2 separate regions of the Homo sapiens genome follow, and region 1 is linked to region 2. Evidence: promoter capture Hi-C in 16 types of primary human blood cells and fetal thymus (Javierre and others, 2016). All regions are on one chromosome and are shown on one strand. Each heading gives the region's core, a stretch centred on a gene start or on the middle of the fragment in contact. The rest is flanking DNA. Distances are from core to core; before and after follow the strand shown. Region 1 overlaps PMEL (premelanosome protein). Region 2 holds the start of CTDSP2-AS1 (CTDSP2 antisense RNA 1).

Region 1 (2,860 bases), core at 213-2,712, 1.9 Mb after region 2:
GAATGCCAGGGTTTGAGAGTGACTCTGTATTTATCTTTCAGGGAGCCAGGTGTGGGGAGGACAGCCAGTGTATCCCCAGGAAACTGACGATGCCTGCATCTTCCCTGATGGTGGACCTTGCCCATCTGGCTCTTGGTCTCAGAAGAGAAGCTTTGTTTATGTCTGGAAGACCTGGGGTGAGGGACTCCCTTCTCAGCCTATCATCCACACTTGTGTTTACTTCTTTCTACCTGATCACCTTTCTTTTGGCCGCCCCTTCCACCTTAACTTCTGTGATTTTCTCTAATCTTCATTTTCCTCTTAGATCTTTTCTCTTTCTTAGCACCTAGCCCCCTTCAACTCTATCATAATTCTTTCTGGCAACTCTTCCTCAATTGTAGTCCTACCCCATGGAATGCCTCATTAGGACCCCTTCCCTGTCCCCCCATATCACAGCCTTCCAAACACCCTCAGAAGTAATCATACTTCCTGACCTCCCATCTCCAGTGCCGTTTCGAAGCCTGTCCCTCAGTCCCCTTTGACCAGTAATCTCTTCTTCCTTGCTTTTCATTCCAAAAACTTCAGGCCAATACTGGCAAGTTCTAGGGGGCCCAGTGTCTGGGCTGAGCATTGGGACAGGCAGGGCAATGCTGGGCACACACACCATGGAAGTGACTGTCTACCATCGCCGGGGATCCCGGAGCTATGTGCCTCTTGCTCATTCCAGCTCAGCCTTCACCATTACTGGTAAGGGTTTAGGAAGGGGCAAGGCCAGTTGTAGGGCAAGAGAAGGCAGGGAGGCTTGGATGGACTGGAAAGGAGAAAGGTGAAATGCTGTGCAAACTTAAAGTAGAAGGGCCAGGAAGACCTAGGCAGAGAAATGTGAGGCTTAGTGCCAGTGAAGGGCCAGCCAGTCAGCTTGGAGTTGGAGGGTGTGGCTGTGAAAGGAGAAGCTGTGGCTCAGGCCTGGTTCTCACCTTTTCTGGCTCCAATCCCAGACCAGGTGCCTTTCTCCGTGAGCGTGTCCCAGTTGCGGGCCTTGGATGGAGGGAACAAGCACTTCCTGAGAAATCAGCCTCTGACCTTTGCCCTCCAGCTCCATGACCCCAGTGGCTATCTGGCTGAAGCTGACCTCTCCTACACCTGGGACTTTGGAGACAGTAGTGGAACCCTGATCTCTCGGGCACTTGTGGTCACTCATACTTACCTGGAGCCTGGCCCAGTCACTGCCCAGGTGGTCCTGCAGGCTGCCATTCCTCTCACCTCCTGTGGCTCCTCCCCAGTTCCAGGCACCACAGATGGGCACAGGCCAACTGCAGAGGCCCCTAACACCACAGCTGGCCAAGTGCCTACTACAGAAGTTGTGGGTACTACACCTGGTCAGGCGCCAACTGCAGAGCCCTCTGGAACCACATCTGTGCAGGTGCCAACCACTGAAGTCATAAGCACTGCACCTGTGCAGATGCCAACTGCAGAGAGCACAGGTATGACACCTGAGAAGGTGCCAGTTTCAGAGGTCATGGGTACCACACTGGCAGAGATGTCAACTCCAGAGGCTACAGGTATGACACCTGCAGAGGTATCAATTGTGGTGCTTTCTGGAACCACAGCTGCACAGGTAACAACTACAGAGTGGGTGGAGACCACAGCTAGAGAGCTACCTATCCCTGAGCCTGAAGGTCCAGATGCCAGCTCAATCATGTCTACGGAAAGTATTACAGGTAAGAGTATCAGTGCGAATGAGGTTCACGGAGGTGGGGTACCCTACTCTACTCTGTAAGTCTTACCCAGGACTCAGATGTTACCCAATCCTTTGCTTAGCACTATGGTCCCCTCAGAGTTCTCACTGGCCTGGCTATAAAGCCCTCCAGTCTCTCTTAATGACATGGAATAGGTCTGGAGTTCAGGAAACCAAGGTCTTCCCCTAGGCCATGAGGAAAGAGCTTGTTGCTTTCTCTACTGCTGAGAACGGTTGGCGAGACCAGGGAACAGACTGTGATCATTTATATAATATTTATAGCTCATTTTCTGTTCAAGCATAAATGCACGAAAATCCTTCCCAGATTCCGAGATCCTGATCCTTCCATTTCCCAACCCTGGATTCCCATCCCAAAGCAAAAAGGGAGGAATGAAACAGTGATGCTTAAATGAGTTAACACACGTTGAATGTCTAGCCTAGGACCTGACATAGTGTGGGGTGTGATAAACATTTGAGGATTTTTTAAAACTCCAATGCCACCCCTAACTGTGACTCTGGAGGAGTCATTTTCTTCTTCTGGGCCTCAGTTTCCTTATCTATAGAATAAGGTTTCCCAGGTCTTATCTGATTCCAAGCCTGTGACTCCAGAATCCAGTAACTCTGGTTCAACCTGAAAAAATGCCTGCTTGGCCTCTGCCTCCAGATGAGTCATCTGTCTCTTGATCTTGCCTCCTTGATCCTCTCCTGCCAGGTTCCCTGGGCCCCCTGCTGGATGGTACAGCCACCTTAAGGCTGGTGAAGAGACAAGTCCCCCTGGATTGTGTTCTGTATCGATATGGTTCCTTTTCCGTCACCCTGGACATTGTCCGTGAGTCTTGCCTACTTTGGTGGCTGATGGAGGCAGCTGTGTGCTACCTAGGGCTGGTCAGTGGAAGCACACCTTGGGAGGAATTACTCACCTAGATAGGAAGAATACCCAAATGCCAGAGTCCTCATTTGAAAGCACAGGGATGGGATTGGTGGAGCAGCCCTGGGGCTTTTCTGTCTCTGGGCTTTTGGGGAGGCCAGGTAGAGGAATCCTAATTTGATAAGCTTGCAACTCTGCAGAGGGTATTGAAAGTGCCGAGATCCTGCAGGCTGTGCCGTCCGGTGAGGGGGATGCATTTGAGCTGACTGTGTCCT
Region 2 (2,888 bases), core at 94-2,593:
GGGAAGGAGGGGTAACTCCAGGTAGGCAAGTGTGGTTTCCAATCCCTCACAATGATACCTTTGCTCTGGCTGGTGCTACATAGGGCAGGGTCTCCTGCTGAGGCAGGGGCAGGATCCAGTCCTTTGAGTTTTCTTGGATGGCATCTCAGGCTTGTCCCTGCTGCCCTGTGGGCTATTAGATCACTTCCTGACATCCCTCAAGAGTCCTCTGGAGTGGGGCTTGCAGGGCTGAGCCTGCAGCTGACTTGTCTATGAGGAAACGCCTCCTCTGTCTCTGGTCCAGGATCTGCTACTTATGGAGGCCCACCCCAACCCAGCACGTTTTTAAAGTACGTTGGAGCTGCCCAGGAGGGTGTTTTGGCAATACCTCCTTTAGAGGCTGATTCTGAAATCAGCGTGCTTTAGAACTGCCAGAAATCCCCTGCTCCCAAAACTGAGTCCTCTTACCTCTCTAGCTGAGGTCAGAGAACAGATTGCTGAAGGGGCAGAGACAAGAAAGTGTGTGACCTGTGACCCTCGCCCCACAGGTGGCATTAAGGACTCAGGTCTGAAAGAAGAGACAGCCATATAGGGAGCTCTCCTGCCCAGGGAAAGGGAACTAATGGAGACACTGGCTTAGGTAGAGCTGCCCCAGTTGCTGGTGCAGAGAGGGCACCAGCATACAACATGCTGGTATGGGCCAAACAGCATGGCTAAAACTGCTTTTTAATTTTTTAAATTTTATTTATTTATTTATTTATTTTGAGACAGAGTTTTGCTCTGTCCCCCAGGCTGGAGTGCAATGGTGTGATCTCGGCTCACTGCAACCTCCACCTCTTGGATTCAAGTGATTCTCGTGCCTCAGCCTCCGGAGTAGCTGGGATTACAGGAGCTCACTACCATACCCTGCTAATTTTTGCATTTTTAGTAAAGATGGGGTTTCACCATATTGGTCATGCTGGTCTCGAACTTCTGACCTTAAGTGATCCCCACTGCCTTTGCCCCCCAAAGTGTTAAAACTGCTTTTTTCAAAAAATGCCCATGCAGTTAGATACACAGCTACTTTTTGGAACTTCGGGAGCCGGTGCTAAGCTGGGTCCGGCCCTGCCTTGCTTGTTAGCTGTAGAGAACAGTGTCAGTGGCCAGGCATGAAAGCAGTACACCCTCCCCATTGTTTGCAGTCTTTTGTGTGTGGGGGCTGTCTAGGCATCTCACCCTCTTTTGTTCCCTGCCGACTCACCTGCTGGTCCCAGGAGCTCTTCCGTCCACCTGGCACTTTAGGGCATGTCCATAGCCAAGGAACAGATGCCCCTTGCAGAGGACCTGGGAGGACTTCTCTCCATGGGGGAGTCCCAGTCAAATGTGTCTTGGCTGCAGGGTTCAGGCAGCCGTCCAAGAAGGGCCGGAAATGCTCCAAATACTCTCCTTCCTCCAATAGCTGAGAGGAAGGAGGCCCCTCAGAGGGGCCATTTTATAGTGATAGCCAGGCTAAGGCTAAGTCCTTTGCTGTGGGGGATGGGAGGTGGTGGGGAAGGAAGTACTTCTGGGGATGAACCAAAAAAGAAAGCAACTTTCTACCTGAATGGGCTTGTTAAAATCTGATTGTCTCAGAGGTTACCTTCTGCTGAATCGCAGGCAGATGTGTGAGGAGTTCCTTTGCTGGGACACAAAGCTGTGTTGTTGACAAAAGTGGTATCTGGACCTGACTTTCAGGAGAAGATTAAAAACAGTGTTGCCCTGGTCACTCTGGTCTTCGTTTGTGTGTATGTGTGCACGTGTTCACGTGTTTGTACATGTACACTTTTTTTTTTTAAAGACAAAATCTCACTCTGTCACCCAGGCTGGAGTGCAGTGGTGCAATCACGGCTTACCGCAGCCTCAAACTCCTGGGCTCCGGTGATTCTCCCACTTCAGCCTGCCAAGCTGGGACTGCAGGTGCACCTGGCTAATTTTTTTTTGGTAGAACAGGATTTTGCCATGTTGCTCAGGCTGGTCTTGAACTCCTGAGCTGCAGTGATCCAACCGGCCCAGCTTCCCAAAGTGCTGGGATTACAGGCTTGAGCCACCTACCCCGGCCCATGCATAGGGGCAAATAGTGTCCTTACCTGGTACTTCTTGAGAGTAGTGGGGATGAATACCAGGGGAGACAGCGATTTTTGTCTCAAGTGAAACAGTCTTACTTGCTTTTGTTTTTCACAGAATACCCAGTCAGGGAGTTTGTGAGCTGGAAAACAAATTTTGTTGTGGACTTGGGAGAAGGTATAGGGGCTATTTTGACTTTCTGAAACCTGCTCATGATCAGAGCTCTCAGGCACCTTTCCCTCATCTTCTTGGGCTTCATCCACGTGATGATGGTGGGAGGGCTCCTGGTCTGTTGCTGGCCTCCTGGAATGAGGCCCATGATGTTGCCATTTAGTGGTCATCTCCCCTTGGATAATTAATTAAAACAAGCGCAGCATTTAGCTTTAGAGTTAGCACAGTGCCTTACTCTCTAACTTCGTTTATCCTTTCAGTCCTGAGTGAGGGCTTGCTGTTATCCCAGTTTATGGATGAGGAAACTAAGGCTCCAAAAGGCTGTGTGGCTGAGTCAGTAACTGGCAGAGCCTGGACCCCAGCCCTGATGATCCTCAGTGGGGGCATACTCCTCACATCCCCTCTTCTCCTCACACCCCGCCTCAGTAGGAAGACTCGCAGCAGTGAGCTGGATGGCTGGCCTGGTTTCCCTGTCTTCAGCCACCAGCTCACTTTCTTCTTAAGCCAGAGCTGCTTCCCTCATTGGGTCTGTGCTAGTCCTCTCAGACATCTAGCCCCAAACCAAATGTTTGGGGCAGAGAAAGCAGAAGCACATCTGCATCTGGGCAGAAGAGGAGGGCTGGGTGTCCGCAGAGGGTAGCAGGGAATGAAGGAGG

What was found. Contacts are between HindIII fragments. The CHiCAGO score rates a contact against its expected background, and 5 or more counts as called.
Region 1: a fragment that was not itself captured here is called in contact with the fragment with the promoter of CTDSP2-AS1 in region 2 in 1 of 17 cell types (monocytes); the score reaches 5.7 in monocytes.

Annotation. Positions count from the first base shown.
Region 1 is chr12:55,955,789-55,958,648 of GRCh38, reverse strand. PMEL (premelanosome protein) reads left to right here. Exons shown (of 11, transcript NM_001384361.1): 4 at 42-176; 5 at 565-726; 6 at 978-1,700; 7 at 2,430-2,546; 8 at 2,786-2,860. Among named protein-coding and RNA genes, the nearest start is that of PMEL, 8.8 kb to the left of the region's middle. RefSeq lists an enhancer at 1,243-1,744. The HindIII fragment of the contact is 2,620 bases long and covers 153-2,772 here.
Region 2 is chr12:57,835,546-57,838,433 of GRCh38, reverse strand. It overlaps CTDSP2-AS1 (CTDSP2 antisense RNA 1), which reads right to left and starts at 1,343. Exons shown (of 2, transcript NR_188077.1): 1 at 1,220-1,343. The region is part of intron 1 of CTDSP2 (CTD small phosphatase 2); the gene reads left to right. RefSeq lists enhancers at 4-83, 144-253, 1-454, 1,044-1,113. The HindIII fragment of the contact is 9,495 bases long and covers 1-2,888 here.